Linked DNA regions of Homo sapiens: regions 2, 3, 4, 5, 6 and 7 are each linked to region 1. Evidence: promoter capture Hi-C in 16 types of primary human blood cells and fetal thymus (Javierre and others, 2016). All regions are on one chromosome and are shown on one strand. The core of a region is centred on a gene start or on the middle of the fragment in contact, and the rest is flanking DNA. Distances in the headings are between cores, read along the strand shown.

Region 1 (2,979 bases), core at 219-2,718:
AAACTTATTTATGTCAATTCGGCTCTTACTGGCGAGTCAATTAAAACTCAGTTGGGTTAAATGTTGGTACCGAATGATTACGAATACCCATTTCAGAGCTTAAAAAAATCTGATTGCAAAACATCGCGCACTTGGCGAAGCCAGGAACCCACACTTAAATACATCTGCCTATACCACTGTTGCCCAAAATCTTCCAGGTCGCCACCCCCCTCACCTTTATCTTAAGTAAAAACGTTCAAAGAAGAAATCACCCACTCTTACTTCCTCAAAGGTAGTCACTCCCCACCCCCAAATCAAAAATCGATCCTCTCAATTCGGCTCCTCCTACAGAAAAGGCGACCTTCAGGCGCACCCGGTCTCCGCGGACAGGACGGAGGCGGACACAAAACCCCCTTTAATAAAGTCTCCCAAACTCCGCAAATCGAAGATCACTTTCCATCCTGAAAATTCCACAAGGGTCTTAGAGTGACAACCCTTACGCTCCTTTAACAGGGTCCCTAACTCTGCCCCGTCCTTCCAACTTTCTTAGAAAAGTCTCTAACGTGCCTTTTAAACTACTAGAATCTCAGACCCGCACTCTCCCCTTAAATCCCCCCAAAGGCCAAAACACTCCCCATCACATGCAAACTGATTTCAGGGCAGACTTCTCAGACCCACGCAATCACTAGAACCACTCTCCTTTGCCTAGTTCCTGCTTGCTCTCGGCCCCACATCAAAATCCCCGTAGGCAATTTCAATTTTCTCCCGCACGCCCGCGTTTTCCTGAGTGACACCTCTCCCTCCCCCCACAGCAGCCCGCTCGTCCCCGCGCCCCCCGTTTTAAAAGAATTTAAAACTTTCACTCCGCAGTCTCGTAACTGCCAGAAGCTGCACTTACATTCTCGTCTCCAGAGAGGTCTGGATTGCTGTTCTCGTCACTGCTCAGCTTCTGCTTCTTGGCCGCAGGCATGTCTGTTCCCGCCGGCGCAGTCGACACTTCCCTCTCGGACATATTCCTCCGCCTCCCTCCAGGTTCCTGCCGCCTGGGGCGGGGCCTCCGCCACACCGCCGTCAAGCAAGCCCGGCCCGAGCTTGCCGCAAAGTTGCCGCTGCCGCCGCCACCTCCACCGCCCCCCCCACTGTCGCAAATCGCGCCCAGCCGCCGAGGCGGGCGTGCGTGCGACCCCGCCACACTGCTGAAAAAGGGGCGCGCGCGCGCGCCCTCCCGCGCGGCTTCCTGGCTCCTTCCCTTCCCCAACTCCCGTCTTGCCCTTTTCCCGCCGCCCTCCCGGCAGTCTACACGATGTAAGGTCCGTTGGATTAAGAGGGCAGTATTAAGTATGTCTCCCTTCCCACCACCGCCTCGAGAAGAGGCGAAACTCAAAGGGATGCTCCCTCACCCCCTTCCTCCTTCCAAAGACGTTTCAGCCGCAATTGGCCCGTTCCTTCGATCTCCGACCCGCTGCTAGGGAGCGAAAGTCTGTGGAATGGGCTACACCACCAATGTCCCAGGAAACGGGGGAAGATACAAGACGTCACCTCTTGCTTTAGCTGTGCATGCCACGTTTCCTTAATCTTGAACTTGGAGGACAGCGCTTCCTGACTATTCACGGAACTATTCATAACCTAATTCTTCCTTGAAGATAGAAATGCAAAAACAGTAACCTGCTTCCCCCTGGCTTCCCCCATCTGGCGAATGGAAAGTACCCGTCAGGGGATGCGCAGGCGCCGTGGCGTACTCTTGCGCTGGGTTCGTCGAAACCCGCCTCCTCCAAGCCCCTCCTCTGTTTGAATTCTCGTTTGCTGAACCAGGTAGTTTTCTACCCGGTTTCCGAATCCCAGGGTGGATTTCAAAGCGCTACCGAATTATACTCTAGACGCTTCGTAAATTCTTGTCGGATATTTATTCTGTTGACTATTTATTGTAATGAATGATTATCCTTCCAGTTGCTACCAATAGTGGTTAAGACTTAAATAGAAATATCCTAACATTATGAGACTAGACTCCAATGAGTTACAGCCAAAGTGCTCTTTTTAGCTGCTAAAGGATAGGCCCTGAACTACGCCAAGGCCTAAGAATCAGTGCTCATCTCCATTATGAGATTGTGATACTTAACCGACAATGTTTTGCTTGTTTTTGCACATCAGATACAATGAAATTCTAGAAGGCAACACAACTGTTAAACTTCACCAAAATATTTGCCTCTGTTACTATATCTATTCTCTAGCAGGTGCCAGATAACATTGGTGAGCCTTGTGGAATTATTATATGGGTCATGAAACCATAACTGAATGAGCAGCAGGAAAAGGAGAGTGATGACGAAAAATAAAATACGGCATCCGCCACCTTTTTTTTGTTTTTCTTAGAACATGATTGTGACTACTTATCTATTCGGGCTTCTGTAAAAATGTCCTCATCTGTAAAAATGAGGAGGCAGGAAGGGAGAAAGGGACCTACCATTTCTTGGGCACCTGCTTGATGTTGTATATCTTTTCTCTTCTAGACCTCATTACCCACCTAGAGTGCACCATCCATAAAATTCTAGTATACTTGAATTATTTCTGCATGATAACTTTATAACCAGGACATCAGTTTCCTTATCTGCAGATTGCAAGTCACTCTTTCTTTTGTAGATAAAGAGAGAACTCTTGGTTGAGAATGAGAAAAGGAAGTAAAGCAAAGGCAGGTCAGAATGAGAGGTTTCTGCAGTGAAGACTTTGAAATAAAGAAGCCGAAAAAAAATTAAAGTTGAGGTCTCAATGACGGCAGTCATTTGTTCAGTACTTCCAATGTTCCAGGCACTACTAAGCACTCCTCAGTTGGTGAGAAGAGATGAGACTGGAGTAGAGTAAGCTCCTGACAAAGTAAGACGTGCTTTGGCATGACATTTTCATCAGCAGACAGAAACATCCTTCCCTTTGTTAAGAACATCTTTCCCAACAAAGGGAAGGACGTTTCTGAAATATAGTTCTACAAGTAAAGGATAATTGACTAAAGCA
Region 2 (2,979 bases), core at 213-2,712, 470 kb after region 1:
TGCATACACAACCAAGGAATGAAGGAGAATCCACAGCATGGGGTTTCTAAACAGGATGGAATAAACGTGAGCTTTGTCCCCCCAGCTCTGAAACAACAGTTGTCTGAGCTAGAACTCAGTGACATTAAACTAACGGTATGTAACTTATGCTAATGAAAGAAATACTGATTTATTACTTTATTACTGTTGGTTGGGATGAATAGTTGTTTACATTCATTTACGTTAATTAACCAAAGACAGGGAGTCTTGCCAAGTTTCCATTTTAAGAATTATATTGAACACTGATGATCGCAGAGATCCAGTGTGCTTCTCCCCTGCTCTCTGAAGTGTCTAAAGGTGAAACCATCCTTAGACTACACCGGTCAGGAAGTCTCGAGAGATGCTCTCAACACTTTGGTAACTATTTATGTTTTTTTCCACTACTATGTATCAGGTGCAGTGTGGCTAAAAATGGACAAAAATCCTTCCCTCAAAGAGTCTAGAAGTGGGAATTTGATATATCTATAAGTTACAAAATGTTAGTTATTGAATAATTACTGTGTTGGGTACCTATATATAAGCATTAATTTTCTTGACAACTCAGTAAGATAGGTATGATGCCCATTTTACAGATGAGAAACCCGAGGCTCAGGGAAGCTAAGTAACTTGTATAATAGGGCCACATTATATTCGGGTCTATCTGACTCTAGAGCCTGGGCTCTTTCCTACTTCAGATGAGAGATGTACGGATAAGTATTATTGGGCTCAGTGAAAGAGAAAATGTTGCCTGCTTGTGGTAGGGGTATTTGTGAGGGGAAATGGGCTGCAGGAGCAGTTTCATGGAGGAGGTGTCATTTACACTGGGACTTGAGTGATAGGAAAGGGTTGGATGTGTGCAGATAAAAGGTAAAGACATTCCAGGTAGAGAGAATGGCATAAACAATGGTCTGGCGATGATAGTGTACAGGTGATATGTGGGGAATGGATGGGCTGTAGTTCAAGGGGTAGGAATGGTCCTGTAGGAAAGAAGATTGGATAGGGAACTTGGAATGAAATGAGAAGGATGCCAATACTGGAGTAAGGAATTTGGACTTCTCTGCCATCAGGGAAGTGCTTGGGAAGGTTTTCGAGTCAAGGCATGGCATGATGAGAGTGGTGCTTTGGATATGAGTCTAGCTGGATTGTGTATGGTAGACAGAAATGAGGGAGAACCAGGAGTGAATGAAGCCATGTTCAGAGAAAATTACATCCGCCTACATGAGTGGTAGACAAGGGGAGAAAGAGTTGTACTGGAGGGAGATTGCACAGGTTCAGTCTGGCAATGATTGGTTTTTAGGATGAGGAGAGGAAAGCATCCATAGTGTCACCTCAGAGTTACTTATGAGGATGTACTTAGTTAACAGGTTCCAGGCAGCATGCTAGGGATTTGTATAGCAGATGCAATACGAATCCAACAGCAATAACTTGACTTGAGCACACCCTGAGCATGACTGTGTGGCAGATTTACCAGAATGTGTGTTCAGAGTTCTGAGCTAATGAATCTGGGAGTGGCCAACCTGGAGATCTATTCCTTATCTATGAGGAACATCTGAGCCCCCAGCTGTCCTGTGAAATGAGGCCCTTTGTTTTGGGTTAAATGATGGTTGCCAGGTGGAGGTTGTTAGGGGAAGGGTGCCAAGTGAAAATGCTACATAAACTGCGTGTTTTTGCAAGTGGTTGTGGTTCTCCTGCCCAGCCTACCACCACGGGCCTGTGCGGTTATTCTGTCCAGCCTGCTGCCACTGGACTGGTGGTTCTCCTGTCCAGCCCACCGCTACTGGACTCTCTTCCCTGTATGTAAGCCGCTGATAAAACCCCATGTTTCATTTGCAGGCTTTGGGTCTCTTCTTCAGCCTCTTAAACTGGGTGCCATCCCTGTTGGAGTCAATAGGGGTTTGGCACAACTCACAGATGGACTCAGAGATGAATAAGTAACATCGTGTCCTCAGACTGTGTATTAATTTTCTATTACTGCTGTGATGAACTTAGGGGCTTAAGACAACACAAACTTATATAATTCTAGAAGTCAGAAGTCTGAAATGGATCTTACAGGCTAAAATCAAGAGATCAACAGAGCTGAATTCCTTCAGGAGGCTCTAGGGGAGAATCTGTTTCCTTGCCTTTTCCAGCTGCTACAGGCTGCCTGCATTCCTTGGCTCATGGCCCCTTCCTCCATCTTCAAAACACATCACTCCAACATTTTCAGCCTCATATCTCCTCTCTCTCCTTCTGACTATTCTAATTCCTTCTTATAAGGACCTTGTGATTACATTGGGCCTCATTAGATAATCTAGGATAATCTCCCCACAAGATTCTTAACAATGATATCTACAAAGTTTCTTTTACCATGTAAGGCAGCATATCTTCAGGTTCCAGGGATTAGGATGTGGGTATCTTTGGAGGACTGTTATTCTGCCTACCATAGAATTAACATACTTATGGAACATAACTTATCAAACTTTTTTGCACAGCCCTTTTTTGGCCTTTTCTGTATTCCATTGAATTGTTTTGCTTTTTTTCTTAATGATCTTTTTTTTCCTCTTCTTCATTTACTCAATAAATGAGGCGCCTGCTATATGCTGGAGACACAGGTTACCAAAGCCTTTCTGCCCACTGCTGGAGGAAGCTAGAGGAGGGCTGTTACTGCAGAACCAGAGACCAAGATATCAAACTCTTGGCTTTTGATTCTCTGAGATTGGGGTCCAGGCCTAAGATGGAAAGATTTAGGAGAATTCTTGTGTTTGAAGAATGAGATCCTTTCACCCAACTTTTCTCCTACCAATACCCCATCTCAAATTTAGAAGATTTAAAAAACCCTCCTCAAAGGTCTCTGCAGCAGGGGGTGGGAGTGTGTGTGCTTGCAGAAACCAAGAATTTGACTCATTCTTAAAATGGTGTAGGAGGTTAGAGGATAGGAAACAGTCTAGTGAGGTAAATAGAAAAGGTAGCAGAAGTAGTTCT
Region 3 (2,979 bases), core at 298-2,797, 380 kb after region 1:
AAAAAATCAAAAACACCTTTTAAAAGGGAAAATCAAGACCCACTGTTCACAGATGTTTATAGTAAGCAGGAGTACTTTCATAGGTTTGGTTTGGGTACTAAAGTAGACTTTTCAGATTATAGTCTTCCTTAACACATTTTTATCTTTTAATTTCCACTAATCTTAAAAGAATAAGTACCTAGCCTTAAATAAATGTATCAGTAGTTAAGTGTGGTAGAAAGCATAAAATATAACCTTTGTAATTATTTAAGTGGCTGGAAACTCTCATGAGGGTGAGGATAATGTAATTCTTGTGCACCACTGTATTTCCTCACTAAGCACAATAGACACACAATAAATGCTTGTCAGATAAACACATGAGTGGATGCATGAACGAATCAGGCAGACATGGGCTTTAATCCTAGATCCATCACTGTTATCTCTGTGACCCTGAATAGGTTACTTAATCTTTTTGAGGAACTTCAGTTGCATCATCTGTCAAGGGAGAAGGATAACAATTCTACTCTAAGAGCTATTGTAAGGATTAAATAAGCTAATATTTAAAGCACCTAGCATAGTGTCTGAGATATAGAAAAAGGGCATATATCTCTAGCTCTATCTCTGTATAGTGCCCCTTCCTCTTTCCCTTCAGTTGTTGCTCCAGGTCAAGCTTCTTCAAATTCTGGGTAACTAAAGCATAGAATGGCTGCCTTCTGCAAGTACGATGATGCGTGGAAAGACTAATCCATAAGGTTTGCTGTTGTCAACCTTCATTGATTTGGATCACTGAATTGGCAATCCACATAGATCTTTGTAGACCATTCAGCTCCAAAGTGGAGAAACTTGTTAATATGAAAACACGCTTTTTCTCTGTAGACATGCTGCCTGCACACTCAGACTTCCAGTCAGGCTGTCTTTATGTCTGTGACTTTTCTAACCAAGTTTGCACTACTCTGTATGCTAACTAATTTGAGCATATACATGAATGCAAATATACCACAATACTTTCCAACTGAAAAGCACACAGATGACACAACAAAAAGATCTAATACATTAGTACATTAAGTAGTGTCTTCTCAAATATGAAAGTATTGAGAATAATTTAATAGGCTCCCACCAAAAGGTGTCATCATGATACCACCACAGTTCACAGAAAATTATCAGCTAAGAGAAGATTACTCTTTGTTTCAGATGCAGAGTTGAATTTTTATATTATTTTCCATTTTAGAATTAGAATTTTAAACTTGGCTGTTGCACAAAAAGCATACTAACAAATGTTTCATTTTAAAACAATAACTTACCATTTAGTAATAATTTTTACTATAAAATATTTAAAAGTTAAAACCAATGCCAACATTAATCTCTTTCTAAGTCATATGGAAGAGATCAAGTGTTACGGTTTTTACCTGTGGTACCCATCTGGTGCTGGAGGAAAAATGACCTCATCCTGCTCAATTACCTTAGTTACCTGGCTTTTATGTTTTTAACTCTCTGACTAATGTATAATTACTTACCTAACTGCAGCTTATGGCAAAGGATTTTAATAAAATATGAGTGAAAATGTGGACCCATTAAAGCACAAATGCTTTATACATAAACTCTATTAAGATTCATTGTTTCACACACTTTAAGAAAATTAGTAAGCCAATTGGACTGTCTGCTTAATAGCTGCATTTTTCCAATGGGCTAATGATAGTACCTCAACATCTATTTTTGCATTTGATAATGTGCTATAAATCATGGGGACTTTCATAAACATTTACAAGGATTCACAGTTCCTGACCACCCAGAAGATTTCTCTCAGTAAAGGGTGAGAATCCTAGAAAAATATTCACAAAGTAAAAGCAATTATCTTCCAGGAAGGTTACACTTAGAATATCTGACAAATAGACGTCGAATCTGTCAGTAACTACAAACATCTATTCAATGCCTGCTCTGTGCATGGTGCTTTACCTGGCCCCCAATTATAAAGTATAGATGAGGCAAGACCCTTCTCAGACAGATAGGAAGACAGAAGCACACTGCAGCAGAACTTTAAAAAAATGAGCAGCTTTAAAATTCATTGCAAAATCATGCAGATAATGCTAGGGAGATCTTCATCCAGCATGTGACCTCCCTTTTGTGGCCATGTGTGTTTTCCTCTCCCGACTGTGTCTGAGGTCTCTAAAACATACACCGTGATGTAAGGACAGGTGAGCATCCTGGGTTTGAAAGACTCAGGACTCCAGCCAACCTTTCCAGAATCTACTCCATCATTTTCTGTCATAAAATCTTGCAATAAATATTTCCCAAACGCCTCTCAGTGAAAAGCCAGAAGTTTATTTACTAAAAATGGACATATCACAATCATTTTTTTCATATGTAGTTATCCCATACTGCTTTGGCTCTGCAAAGTTACCTATAGAACACACAGTGTATCCCTTCCTGCACTATCTCAGCATCCTGGCTCAGTATCTAGAAAGCTTAAAATAAATGACTCTCTTTTTTTTTTTTTTTTTTTTTTTAATGAGACAGGGTCTGGCTCCGTCGCCCAAGCTAAAAATGCAGGGTCATTCCAACTTCTGCCTCCCAGGTGCAAGTCATCCTCCCACATCACCTCCAGAGTAGCTGGGATTACAGGCGCATGCTACCATGCCTGGCTAATTTTTTAATTTTTTGTAAAGAGGGGGTTTTGCCATGTTTCTCAGGATGGTCTTGAACTCCTGAGCTCAAGGGATCCACCCACTTTGGCCTCCCAAAGTGCTAGGATTACAGGCATGAGCCACCGCACTTGGCCCAAAATGACTATTTTAATGACTTTGTGAAGGCGTGAATATCCAGAAGCCTCCCAATGACTCCTTTCCTAATTCTGTGGAGGCTGGGAGGGATGGCAGTTCTGCCCTAATACCTTTCTGGACATATAAAATGGAGTTTGAGGTTTGATAGCTAATGTTTTACATACAATGTAGATTAAAATGAAAGATATTTACTTAACAGCATTAGCAATGACAGAAGTTCAGA
Region 4 (2,979 bases), core at 257-2,756, 360 kb after region 1:
AGAGCAGTGGCGCGATCTCGGCTCACTGCAACCTCCACCTCCCAGGTTCAAGTGATTCTCCTGCCTCAGTCTCCCAAGTAGCTGAGATCACAGGCACCCACCACCACGTCCGGCTAATTTTGTATTTTTAGTAGAGACAGGGTTTCATTCACTATGTTGGCCAGGCTGGTCTCGAACTCCTGACCTCAGGCAATCTGCCCGCCTTGGCATCCCAAAGTGCTAGGATTACAGGTATGAGTCACCATGCCTGGCCACAAGATACTATATTTAAAATCTCTTAACAAATGGTGGTTATTTTCATTAAACAATTATCAGTACTACTATAAGCCAGATGGGTAGTTGTTCTCTCATTCGAGCAGACTGCTACTGTCTCAGGCCAGTGCCCCATTTGGCCTTTGAGGGGAGGGTTGGTAGATGTCACTGAAGATTGTAAAAGGGAGATGGATGTAGTGGCTGTTTTTCTACTTTCTTAGAACTTCTTCCCTTCCCTTCTAGTAACACATACGCCCCAGAGATTTTTGTTTGTTTGTTTAAGCTGAGATCTGACAGCATGTGAAGCCTTGTATCCAGGTCAGAAGCACTCTGTCTTTCTGTGTTAAGTGATGTGAAAAGACTAACATCCCCTTTATGCTTAGGCTAGTTTGACTTGGATTTTTTATCCTTGCAACTGAAAGAGTCCTTACTAAAAGTTGGATGAAAAGGGTTGCAGCAGTATTTCTCAAACCTTACTGTGCATAGGAATCCCCTGGGATCTTGTCAGAATGCGGATTCTGATTCAGTAGGTCTGGGTGGGGCCTGGGAATTGGCATTGTAACAAGCTGATAGGTGAAGCACTTGCTGCTGCTCCACACCAAAATGAGTTGCAAGGGACTACCTGGGACATAAAGTGACTACCTCGGAAATGTTTTCCAGACACTTCTGTTCTCTTACTTTCCCTCTCTTCCTCCATGTCTGTGAGCTTCCTTTCTTCCCATGCATGTCCAGTCCTCCTCTATTGTGCTCAGTCATGCCGTGTGGCCCAGTCTTGTATGACACATCCCCATGCTCAGCCCAAACCATCAACAGGCGCATCTCAACTAACTGGGCCCATTCCTTTAGAAGGCAGTTTAGCGAGCACAGCTGAGCATCCTTTGGGGTCTCACTCCATCTCAAGGGACTTACTAAAGTATTCCTTCCAAATATAAGCAGAACTCTTTTGGAAAGAAGTCATGCAAAATATACTATCTACCATGTCATGACATCCCTATTGCCAATGAAGAGACTTGGGTAGGAGGAGGTCTATGGGAACAGTTTTGGACTCCCCTAAAAATGAAACTTGCCTATTGATGTTTGGTCTTGGAAACGATTTCACTCAAAACAGCAAATATCTATTGAGTGGAGAGCCTGCTGTGTGCAAAGTGCTCAGCTAAGTAGGCACTTGGAGAAATCCAGAAATACGTGGATTTCCTAAGGGCTAACAAATGATAGCACTTAGGTCTCTTTCTCATGTTTTCCAGCTTCCTAGCAGGGATGTTATTTATGGAGGTTTTGGCAAAAGTGGTCCTAGAAATCTTAGCAGCAAGTTTAGAATGAAAGAATAGGAATTTCAAAATGTGTATGTCAGAACTGCATGATTTACCCTCAGTACCATGGTATTTCCTAAGCCTACAGCAAGAGTATGCCCTGGGTCTTTCATTGCCTGCACCTAGTGTCATTACTACCCATGTTCTCCAAACTTCCCCTTTCCCAACGCTAATCCCTATTTCCTCCATCTAATGGGGTGCTTGGCTCCCTTAGAGATATTGGGAGAAACATTTTTCATGGTTTTATTTGCCTTATCATTCCCAAATCTAAGCTGAAGCTGAAGTCAATGAAACCACCAAACAACAGAATTAAAAAAAAAAAGAAAAAAAAGAAAAAGAACAAAACCCTACTATGAGTAATGGTGTTTAACAAGATACTGTCCTGTTGTAAGAGTCAGATGAGGCTGGGCATGGTGGCTCACGCCTGTAATCCCAGAACTTTGGGAGACTGAGGTGGGACTATCCCTTGAGCCCAGGAGTTCGAGACCAGCCTGGGCAACATAGCAAGACCTCATCTCTACAAAAAAGGAACAAAATTCTCAGGCATAGTGGTGTGCACCTGGAGTCCCAGCTACTTGGGAGGCTGAGGTGGGAGGACTGCATGAGCCCAGGAGGTTAAGATTGCAGTAAGCTGAGATCGCACCACTGCACTCCAGCCTGGGTGACTGAACTACACCCTATCCCAAAAAAAACAGTCAGATAAATTTCATCTGTTTCTGATCACTACCCTTCTTCCACCTCCTTGCTTGGCTTCATTACCTCTACCCACTTTATTATTTCCCTCTCCTGCCCATTTACCTACATGTGTTTGTGGCTGCGGTGGTAATGATGCCGTTTAAAATACACTTAACAGCATTTTGAACATATTGGAAGAATAAAGCATTAATATATTCAAGAAATAACTTGGCACAACTCTATGATAGTTTTCTATGTTCCTAAATCACCTCTCAAGTTTTTTTCCTGGTCTCTTTCAAACTTCCATTTTTCCTTCATCGCTTCTTCAACATCCTCTCTTGTTACAACTGGCAATCCCTCTGCCTTCTCTTCACTCAGTTCCTTTAGTAGATGCCGTATGTGCCAAATCTGTTCTTCTTTTAAGCGGCTATTCTGTCATGAAAATCAACAGTAATTCACGTTTGATCAACTATGTACACTATGTTTCCTCAAAATAGAGTCAAGAAGTTCCCGGCCTTTGGGTATCACAGGAAGGCAAGTGGGAAGCCTGGACTTCTACTTCCATCAGACATTATGAGGTGGTATCCCTACTTCCCCTGGCAGAGCAATGCCAGTAAAAGCTAGGTAAAACAGAAGATTACAAATAAGATCTAGAGTCTTATGACATTATTAAAAAAATGTCCAGGTTTCAATAAATCACTCATCATACCAAGAACCAGGAAGATTGTAAACTAAATGAAAA
Region 5 (2,979 bases), core at 335-2,834, 340 kb after region 1:
TCAATTTAGGAGTTTGAGATGTCTGCACCGGTTGCACAGCTGGTTGTTGAATATGTGGTTTTAGAGCCTGGAATTGAGATCAGTTTCAACTTGGACGGGATGCTTTTTAGGCCTGCAACACAATTATCATCCTCAGACACTTCTTCCCTGGTATACTGGGAAGTATACTGTTTCCTGTTTTTCTCTTCATCAGTTTACTTTCTTGTTTTGCTGACATACATGGTTAAGTAAATTCTTGAGAAAACATGAGAAGTATTCTGAGCCCTTGCATTTCTGAAAATAGCTTTATTTGTCCTTAATCTACTTTAGCTGACTATAGAACTCCAAGTTAAAAATAATTTTTCATCTGAACTTTGCTATTGAAAAATCAAATGTCAGTTTGGGTCTTATTCCCTTGTAGTTAACTTCACCCCCACCCCCACCTGCTTCTGCCAGAATCTTTTAGGATTTTCCTTTTGTTCTTGGTGTTCTGAAAATTCATGTCCTTTTCAGAACCCTGAAATTTTCTTCTATTATTTCATTGATGATTCCCTTCCCTCTATTTGCCCTTTTTTTCTTTCTTTTTTCTTTCTTTGAGACAGTCTGTCACCCAGGCAGGAGTGCAATGGTGCGATCATAGCTCACTGCAGCCTTGACCTCCTGGGCTCAAGTGATTCTCCCACTCCAGCCTCCTGAGTAGCTGAGACCACAGGCCTGCACCACCATGCCTGGCTAATTTTTTTTTATTTTTTGTAGAGCCGGGATCTTGCTATGTTGCCTAGTCTGGTCTTGAATGCCTGGGCTCTAGCAATCCTCCCACCCCAGCTTCCCAATGTGTTGGGATTACAGGAGTGAGCCACTGCTCTGGTTCTTATTCTTTCTTTCTGAAATTACTGTGTATTTGTATTAGTTGGATATTGTACATCTTACATTAGTACTCTATGTCTCTTATTTTTCTTCTTCCTTTTTTTTTTTTGTATTGTGGTCTTCCCTGTTTTGAGATTTGTTCTCTGTTCCCTATTTTATTTTATTTTATTTTATTTTTGAGACAGAGTCTCAATCTGTTGCCCAGGCTGGAGTGCAGTGGCTCAATCACAGCTGACTGCAGCCTTGACCTGCTGAGCTGAAGCAGTTCTCCCACTTCAGCCTCCTGGGTATTTGGGACTACGGGTGCTCACCACCATGCCTGGTTAACTTTTCTATTTTTTGTATAGATGGGGTTTCACTATGTTACCCAGGCTGGTCTCAAACTCCTGGGCTAAAGCAATCCTCCTGCATTGACTTGCCAAAGTGCTGGAATTACAGGCATGGGCCACCATGCCTGGTCTATTTCCTGTTTTATATTTGATTTTTGTTCTTAAAGCATCTTGTTTTATAAATAAAATGCCTTCTCAAATTTAAAATATATATATATATTGAGATGGAGTTTCACCATGTTGCCTAGGCTGGTCTCAAACTCCTGCACTCAAGTGATCTGCCTGCATTGGTCGCCCAAAATGCTGGGATTATAGATGTGAGCCAATGTGTCTGGCCAGAATTTTTTTTTTTTTTTTTAGACAGGGTCTCGCTCTGTCGCCCAGGCTGGAATGCATTGATGGGATGTTGGCTCATTGCAACCTCTGCCTCCCGGGCTCAAGCGATTCTCATACTTTAGCCTCCCAAGTAGCTGGGACTACAGGTGTGAGCCACCGTGACCAGCTAACTTTTGTATTTTTAGTAGAGATGAGGTTTTGCCATGTTGGCCAGGCTGGTCTTGAACTCCTGGCCTCAAGCGATCTGCCCTCCTCAGCCTCCCAAAGTGCTGGGATTAGAGGTGTGAGCCACTATGCCTGGCCAGATTATTTTGAGTATACTAACAAAAGACCTTCACAGTTCCCTAAATTTTTTCTATTTCTTCCACAGGCTGTTTTTGTTGTTATTGTTTATTTTTTATTTTGTTGTTAATTCACTTGGCCTTTCTCTTCTGTTGTGCCAAATGTACTCAAATGCCTGGTGGTCCTTGGATGTCTATTTATATTTAAGAAAAGTCTGGGGAGTGGCATGGATTTTCCCCACCACTGTGTAAATAGGACTGTTTTCATACCAAATTTTTCCTCTGAATGGGAATGTGGACTGGAGACTGTATGTGGTATGGCAGGTGGTGTGAACTGGCAAATCCCAAAGGATGAGAAGGCAAGAGTGGGATATTAGGTTGTGGCTTCCTAAATGCCAACATAGGAAGGATTTTCTGTGGGGCACAGAAACATCTAAGGTCTACACTAGAAACCTTTGCCTTTATCTGATAATTTGTTTAGTGTTCTCAGAGGACAGTCATCAGGTTCTTAGGTCAAAAGTAAACACTTTGGTGGTATGTGAGGGAAATTGTAGAGGGTGATGGCAGATGCTTACTGATACAGATGCTCCCTATTCAGATCATCAAGTAACCCTCTTGTTTTCTGCTCCAGTTCCCATTCCCACCATCTATAGCACACACAGACTCTGAGCAGAGAATCTCCCAGGATTCCAAAAACATTGAGTTTTGCACATCCTCTGTAGTTCTCTTGTAACGTCTGGCCCAAGCAATACCTTCTCGTTTCATCCAACAACATACTCTCACATCTACTTTTTGTCTTTCAGAAGATTTCTGAAATCTCACCTGCTAGTTAACTCCTCTTGTTCTCTTTGTGGATGAGTTCTTTTTGTATTTTTATAATTTTTATAATTTTATTTCAGCGAGCCCTCAGGAGAGGTAGGATGCAGCCTACCATCTTGAACTACAATAAACAATTCACAAAGGTTTTAACCTATGATCTAAGCTATTTATTTGATTAATCCCTTCAATGAATATATCTATATTCATTGACATTCAGTCATTCAATAACTAATAAGCACAGATTATTTATCAGGTGCCATGGAAATATAGTTGAAAAGATATAGCCTGCTCTGTGTATTAATGAGACAGATGCATAAATAGACAATTTCAACATCTTTCAGCAAGAATTACAATAAAACAAGAAAACA
Region 6 (2,979 bases), core at 216-2,715, 320 kb after region 1:
CATGAAGTTGATCTTCAGTCTCTGATATTGTTTCTTCTGCTTGATTGATTCGGCTATTGATACTTGTGTATGCGTCACAAAGTTCTCATGCTGTGTTTTTCAGCTCCATCAGGTCATTTATGTCCTTCTCTAAACTGGTTATTCTAGTTAGCAATTCTTCTAACCTTTTTTCAAGGTTCTTAGCTTCCTTGCATTGGGTTGGAACATGCTCCTTTAGCTCAAAGGAGTTTGTTATTACCCACCTTCTGAAGTCTACTTCTGTCAATTCGTCAAACTCAATTCTCTGTCCAGTTTTGTTCTCTTGCAGGCGAGGAGTTGTGATCCTTTGGAGAAGAGGCACTCTGATTTTTGGAATTTTCAGCCTTTTCGTGATGGTTTTTCCTCCTTTTCATGGATTTATCTACCTTTGGTCTTTGATGTTGGTGACCTTCAGATGGGGTTTTTGTGTGGACGTCCTTTTTGTTGATGTTGATGCTATTCCTTTCTGTTTGTTAGTTTTCCTTCTAACAGTCAGGCCCCTCTGCTGCAGGTCTGCTGGAGTTTGCTGGAGGTCTACTCCAGATCCTGTTTGCCTGGGTATCACCAGTGGAGGCTGCAGAGCAGCAAAGATTGCTGCCTCTTCCTTCCTCTGGAAGCTTCATCCCAGAGAGGCGCCCGTCAGATGCCAGCCAGAGCTCTCCTGTATGAGGTATCTGTTGATTCCTGCTGGGAGGTGTCTCCCAGTCAGGAGGCACGGGGTTAAGGAACTCACTTGAGGAGGCAGTCTGTCCCTTAGCAGAGCACAAGTGCTTTGCTGGGAGATCTGCTGGTCCCTTCAGAGCTGGCAGGCAGGAATGTTTAAGTCTGCTGAAGCTGTGCCCACAGCCGCCCCTTCTCCCAGGTGCTCTATCACAGGGAGATGGGACTTTTTTCTATAATCCCCTGACTGGGGCTGCTGGCTGCTGCCTTTCTTTCAGGGATGCCCTGCCCAGAGAGAAGGAATCTAGAGAGGCAGTCTGGCTACAGGGGCTTTGCTGAGCTGTGATGGGCTCTGCCCACTTCGAACTTCCCAGTGGCTTTGTTTACACTGTGAGGGGAAAACCTCCTACTCAAGCCTCAGTAATGGCAGATGCCCCTCCCCTCACCAAGCTCCAGCATCCCAGGTTGACTTCAGACTGCTGTGCTGGCAGCAAGAATTTCAAGCCAGTCGATATCAGCTTGCTGGGCTCCATGGGGATGGAATCTGCTGAGCTAGACCACTTGGCTCCCTGGCTTCAGCCCCCTTTCCAGGGGAGTGAAAGTTTCTGTCTTGCTGGCATTCCAGGCACCACTGGGGTATGAAAAAAAACTCCTGCAGCTAGCTCGGTGTCTACCCAAATGGCCATCCAGTTTTGTGCTTGAAACCCAGGGCCCTGGTGGTGTAGGCATCTGAGAGAATCTCCTGGTCTGCAGGTTGTGAAGACCGTGAGAAAAGCATAGTATCTGTGCCAGAATGCACCATTCCTCATGGCACAGTCCCTCACGGCTTCCCTGACCCCTTGTGCTTCCCGAGTGAGGCGACGCCCTACATTGCTTCAGCTCGTCCTCCGTGGGCTGCACCCACTGTCTAACCAGTTCCAGTGAGATGAGCTGGGTACCTCAGGTGGAAATGCAGAAATCACTCACTTTCTGTGTTGATCTCACTGGGAGCTGCAGACCAGGGCTGTTCCTATTCGGCCATATTGCCAGCCACCATATAATAATATTCTTAAAGTCCTAGCCTACTGACTTGAATATCTGGGTCATTGGTGGGCATGCTTTAATTGTTTGCTTTTCCTCCTGATTCTTAGTCTTATTTTCCTGCTTCTTTGCACTGTACACGCGCGTGCACACACACACACACGTATAAAGTTTTGTATGCTCAACATTGTGAATACAAGGAGTATAGTGTCTGGGTTGGTATTCTTTGTTCCCCAGAGAAAAAAGAATCTATCCTCTGTTAGTTATATTAGGTGAGGAGAAAATCACCTCAAAGGAATCAAGAATTGAGCTGGGGGAATCGAGAGGCTCTGGTGAGGAGTGGGTGCCGTGTGTAGGTGGTGAGTGAGGAGGGAGAGGGAAAGGAAAGAGAGGAGAGCGAAGAAAAAAAATAGAGTTGAACTGGGTCAGGGCTAGTTTGCCGTTTTACTTAGATTCAGTCCACCTCTGCTCTGAAATCTCTTGAGAGTGATACCTTTTAGTTTCAGGGCCCACATCTACAGAATGAATTATTCCAGGTGCATCCATGTCTCTTTTCTCTATTGAAACTCAGTCCCTAGGTTATGTCATTTAAGCTTTCATGGCTTTAAATTCAGTCCTGGGCTGTTGATTCCCAGATCTGAATCTCCAGCCTTTACCTTTCCTAGCAGGAAACAAAGGGCACATTCAAACAGGATACCTGGAGAAAATTTAACAAAGGCAATATATACAAAGGTGTGGGCAGCATCAAGGAAAACCAACAGGAATGGTAACACTCCCTGGGGCTATCAACAGATGGGAACTGTTCCACTCCTGGGTCTAAAGGGGGAGAGGGAGGGAGTACTTACCAGACCTAGAGAGTAGCTATACTGATTCAGTATTTCTCGTCTGAGATGATTGGGACCAGAAGTGTTTCAGATTTCAGATTTTTTAGGATTTTGGAATATTTGCATATACGTAATAAGATATCTTGGGGGTAGACCCAAGTCCAAACGCAAACTTCATTTATATTTCAGATACACCATATACACATAACCTGAAGGTAAGTTTATATACTATTTAAAATTTTTTTTTGTGTATGAAACAAAGTTTTTACTGCAACCCATCACATGAGGTCAGGTGTGGAATTTTCCACTTGTAGCATTGTGTCAGTGCTTAGAATGTTTCAGATTTTGGAACATTTTGGATTTTGGATTTTCACATTAGGGATGCTCAACCTTTGTTAGGTGAGCCTTCCAACAGGAATAGTGGCCTTTGATAGAGGAACCCTGCTAATCTACATGA
Region 7 (2,979 bases), core at 211-2,710, 300 kb after region 1:
TCTTTAAAAGTATCTTAAAGGCTTTTAGCACTTACTCAGATCATAAGAACAGAATGACCTAAAACATAACCAACCTAAAGAGTCACGATACAAAAAAAAAAAAAAAGGCTTTCTGGGAACATGAGCCTCACAAAGTCATAGGAATAGGAAATGGAAATACTTAATCAAGTTAAAGTCACTAATATTTAGAAAGCCTCAGTTGTTCGAGGGTGCATTTCCTTGTGTCTGTTACAAAAGCCAGTTTATTCCAAGAAAAATACAGAGAACTGTTGTGTTGGCATCTAGTAAAACAAGCAAGGAAATCAGTCCTTTAACAAACAGCCCTTTGTTGCCATAAAACTAACCTAGCCTCTCTGTTCCCTGAATGGTTCTAGTGTCTGACTACATGGCTTGAGAAGAGACAAAAATGCCTGTACCCCACCTCCTGCTACACATAAGAATTTTGGAACTAGGTTTACTACTTGTCCCTACAGCCTCAAGTAGATCAGCAGATTCAGGATGGGCCCTTGGAGCCTACTGGATGAAGACCATGCCCCTATACCAGGGCGGTGACTGATTTGCTCTCAGCAAAAGACAGAGCGAGCCTTTGGATTAATAAGCATGTAGTTACCCCATATGCATATAAAACTATCATATATCTATACAAATTAAAACTTAAAGTGTGTAGAGCCCGGCTGTCATCATACTGGTTTGCACCTGACACCATGTGACGGATTGGACACAGACTCTGCTCTGTGTGCCTTTACGTGAATGCATTGCAAAGACAACCATACTCTTTGGCTACTTCCAGAGAATCTTTAGAGATTCCTGTTATATGTCAATTTTTTCAACTGCCATATATTGCATGTCTACTATGTGTAGGTTACACACTTTCTAATCCTTAAATAATACTGCAGTATGGGAATTAGGTTTGTAAAGTATAGTTGAGGAAACCAGGGTTTAAAGAGGTTAAGTGACCACCCAAGATGCAAAGGCAGCCAGCCTGACTCCACAGAATGTGTTTTCCCATACTCTGTCTCTTTACACCTCCTTAATTTCTTCAAACCTAGCTAATTTTTGGCCTAAAGTAAGCAACTTACTACCCTGAAGCTCAAGCTCCAACCACCTTGTTCCTGCCCCTCAAATCTTGAATAACAACATGCAAAACTCAAATACTTTGTTATTCTGAGAACTGAAACCTACATAAAAATCCTCCTAAACTCATTTTTACTTAAATTGCTTTTTCCAAGCCTATTACTAAAGGTACTAAAAACAGTGTGAGCTAAACACATGGTAGCCTCACCCACCACACCTAGAATAGCTTTTCCTGTCTTCTCCCACTTTCCTTGCTTCCTTCCCTCCTTGTTATTGCTGAAGACTGAAAGCAGCAATGATGGCTCAGGCTCTCTTAGTGGACCATGAGCTATTTGAGGAAAGAAGCAGTTTGATTTTGCATCCCTAAAACCTTACAAACAGTGCCTGACTGGTTCCATAAATGCTTTGTTGAATGAGTGACACCCATAGGAAGTTCACAGTGGTACAACTTTATTGAGAGTTGCTTTGCAATGTAGTCATTAACAAAGCTACCATTGTAAGCTGTTTGGAATTTGAGTTGTTGAGAAAACTGCAGATTTATTTTAGAGATACTGCTATTCTGCAAATCTCAAACACAAGAAATGATACTAATGGAAGGAAAGCACATTGATATGGTTTGAATGTTTGTCTCCTCCAAATCTCATGTTGAAATGTAATCTCCAATGTTGGAGGTAGGGCCTGGTGGGAGGTGATTGGATCATGAGGGCAAATGCCTCATGAATGGTTTAACACCATCCCCTTGGTGATAAGTGAGTTCTTGCTCAGGTCACATGAGATCTGGTTGTTTAAGACAGTCTGGAACATCTCCCTTCTGTCTCTCACTTCTGCTCTTGCCATGTGATAAACCTGTCCCCCTTCACCTTCCACCATGAGTGTAAACTTCCTGCAACCCTTGCCTAGAGCAGATGCTTGCATCACACTTCCTGTAGAGCCTGCAGAACTGTGAGCCAATGAAACCTCTTTTTTAAAATAAATTACCCAGCCTCAGGTATCCCTTTATAACAATGCAAATGAACTAATACAGACATTCTTTCCCCTTCCCTTTCCAAATGATGCCTTCTCAACTCTGACATCTTCTTGGCAGCAAACAAGACTTTTTTAGTCTGTCAGGTTCCAACCTGAGCTGAGGTCTGAGGGGAGCTGGTGGATGGGTGGTGGGTAGCTGAAAGAACACTCGAGGGACCATAGGCAGTTGGGACATGGCTTTATTCTCTCCCCCTCTCCTACAGAGTCAGCAGTGCCATTATATTTCTCACAGACAACAGTGGCTTAAAGCCACATATGGGCTCACACAAACAGGTTACATTAAATGACTACATAAGTGTGATTACATAGTGCACAAGATTTTGTGCCTGCACTCCAAACCTGCTGTGTCGTGCTGTACTGGATGTCTGCCTTGGCCTACTCCTGACTGAAGCATAGCCATTTTCCTTATACTCCACCCCCTAGGCTGAGGGAGTTCTCCTAGTGGGGAGATGTGCCCACAGGGCAGAACCCTGGACCCAGAGGCCACAGCAGCAATACAGAGAGCAACAACTCACTCAACTCACTATTAATATTCTCACTATGCTACCCATAATTATTAAGAGTCCAGCATAGGCCAGAGCCCAGGGATGCCCACCATGTTTGTTGGGGGTCATCAGTAAGGCTTTCAACTGCCTTGATTTCCTGGGAAACTCCTTGCAAAGCTGCTGTTATGTTTTGTTGATTGTCACGGATAAAGGTACAACTTTGTGTTCCCAAAAGATGCCAGGGATGAAGATACAACATTGTGTTCCCAAAAGAGCACAGGTGCCACCTTGGGGAGCAGTTAATATGTCTAGGGCCATCTGGTTCTGCAGTGCTACCTTCCTGGTTTGATCAACCTCATCTGTCAACAGAAGGAGGGCAACTTGGGTGTAATTC

Evidence for each region. Contacts are between HindIII fragments. The CHiCAGO score rates a contact against its expected background, and 5 or more counts as called.
Region 2: a contact is called between a fragment that was not itself captured here and the fragment with the promoter of EED in region 1, in 5 of 17 cell types (activated CD4 T cells, total CD4 T cells, naive CD8 T cells and 2 more). The highest score is 8.1, in activated CD4 T cells.
Region 3: a fragment that was not itself captured here is called in contact with the fragment with the promoter of EED in region 1 in 17 of 17 cell types (neutrophils, monocytes, M0 macrophages and 14 more); the score reaches 26.0 in neutrophils.
Region 4: a contact is called between a fragment that was not itself captured here and the fragment with the promoter of EED in region 1, in 9 of 17 cell types (neutrophils, monocytes, M2 macrophages and 6 more). The highest score is 12.0, in neutrophils.
Region 5: a fragment that was not itself captured here is called in contact with the fragment with the promoter of EED in region 1 in 5 of 17 cell types (neutrophils, monocytes, M2 macrophages and 2 more); the score reaches 12.6 in neutrophils.
Region 6: a fragment that was not itself captured here is called in contact with the fragment with the promoter of EED in region 1 in 7 of 17 cell types (monocytes, neutrophils, M0 macrophages and 4 more); the score reaches 13.7 in monocytes.
Region 7: a contact is called between a fragment that was not itself captured here and the fragment with the promoter of EED in region 1, in 12 of 17 cell types (monocytes, neutrophils, M0 macrophages and 9 more). The highest score is 34.1, in monocytes.

The regions. Positions count from the first base shown.
Region 1 is chr11:86,243,242-86,246,220 of GRCh38, reverse strand. It overlaps EED (embryonic ectoderm development), which reads right to left and starts at 1,468. Exons shown (of 12, transcript NM_003797.5): 1 at 878-1,468. The coding sequence starts at 991. RefSeq lists enhancers at 956-1,484, 1,485-2,015. The HindIII fragment of the contact is 4,943 bases long and covers 1-2,979 here.
Region 2 is chr11:85,768,600-85,771,578 of GRCh38, reverse strand. All of the region lies in intron 1 of SYTL2 (synaptotagmin like 2), which reads left to right. Among named protein-coding and RNA genes, the nearest start is that of SYTL2, 41 kb to the left of the region's middle. The HindIII fragment of the contact is 9,047 bases long and covers 1-2,979 here.
Region 3 is chr11:85,861,503-85,864,481 of GRCh38, reverse strand. All of the region lies in intron 1 of CCDC83 (coiled-coil domain containing 83), which reads right to left. Among named protein-coding and RNA genes, the nearest start is that of CCDC83, 7.6 kb to the right of the region's middle. The HindIII fragment of the contact is 1,792 bases long and covers 652-2,443 here.
Region 4 is chr11:85,882,203-85,885,181 of GRCh38, reverse strand. It overlaps CCDC83 (coiled-coil domain containing 83), which reads right to left. Exons shown (of 11, transcript NM_001286159.2): 4 at 2,507-2,669. Among named protein-coding and RNA genes, the nearest start is that of CCDC83, 28 kb to the right of the region's middle. The HindIII fragment of the contact is 7,028 bases long and covers 1-2,979 here.
Region 5 is chr11:85,899,618-85,902,596 of GRCh38, reverse strand. The region is part of intron 7 of CCDC83 (coiled-coil domain containing 83); the gene reads right to left. Among named protein-coding and RNA genes, the nearest start is that of CCDC83, 46 kb to the right of the region's middle. The HindIII fragment of the contact is 6,819 bases long and covers 1-2,979 here.
Region 6 is chr11:85,923,064-85,926,042 of GRCh38, reverse strand. No RefSeq gene overlaps it. Among named protein-coding and RNA genes, the nearest start is that of CCDC83, 69 kb to the right of the region's middle. The HindIII fragment of the contact is 1,656 bases long and covers 638-2,293 here.
Region 7 is chr11:85,944,941-85,947,919 of GRCh38, reverse strand. No RefSeq gene overlaps it. Among named protein-coding and RNA genes, the nearest start is that of CCDC83, 91 kb to the right of the region's middle. The HindIII fragment of the contact is 4,095 bases long and covers 1-2,979 here.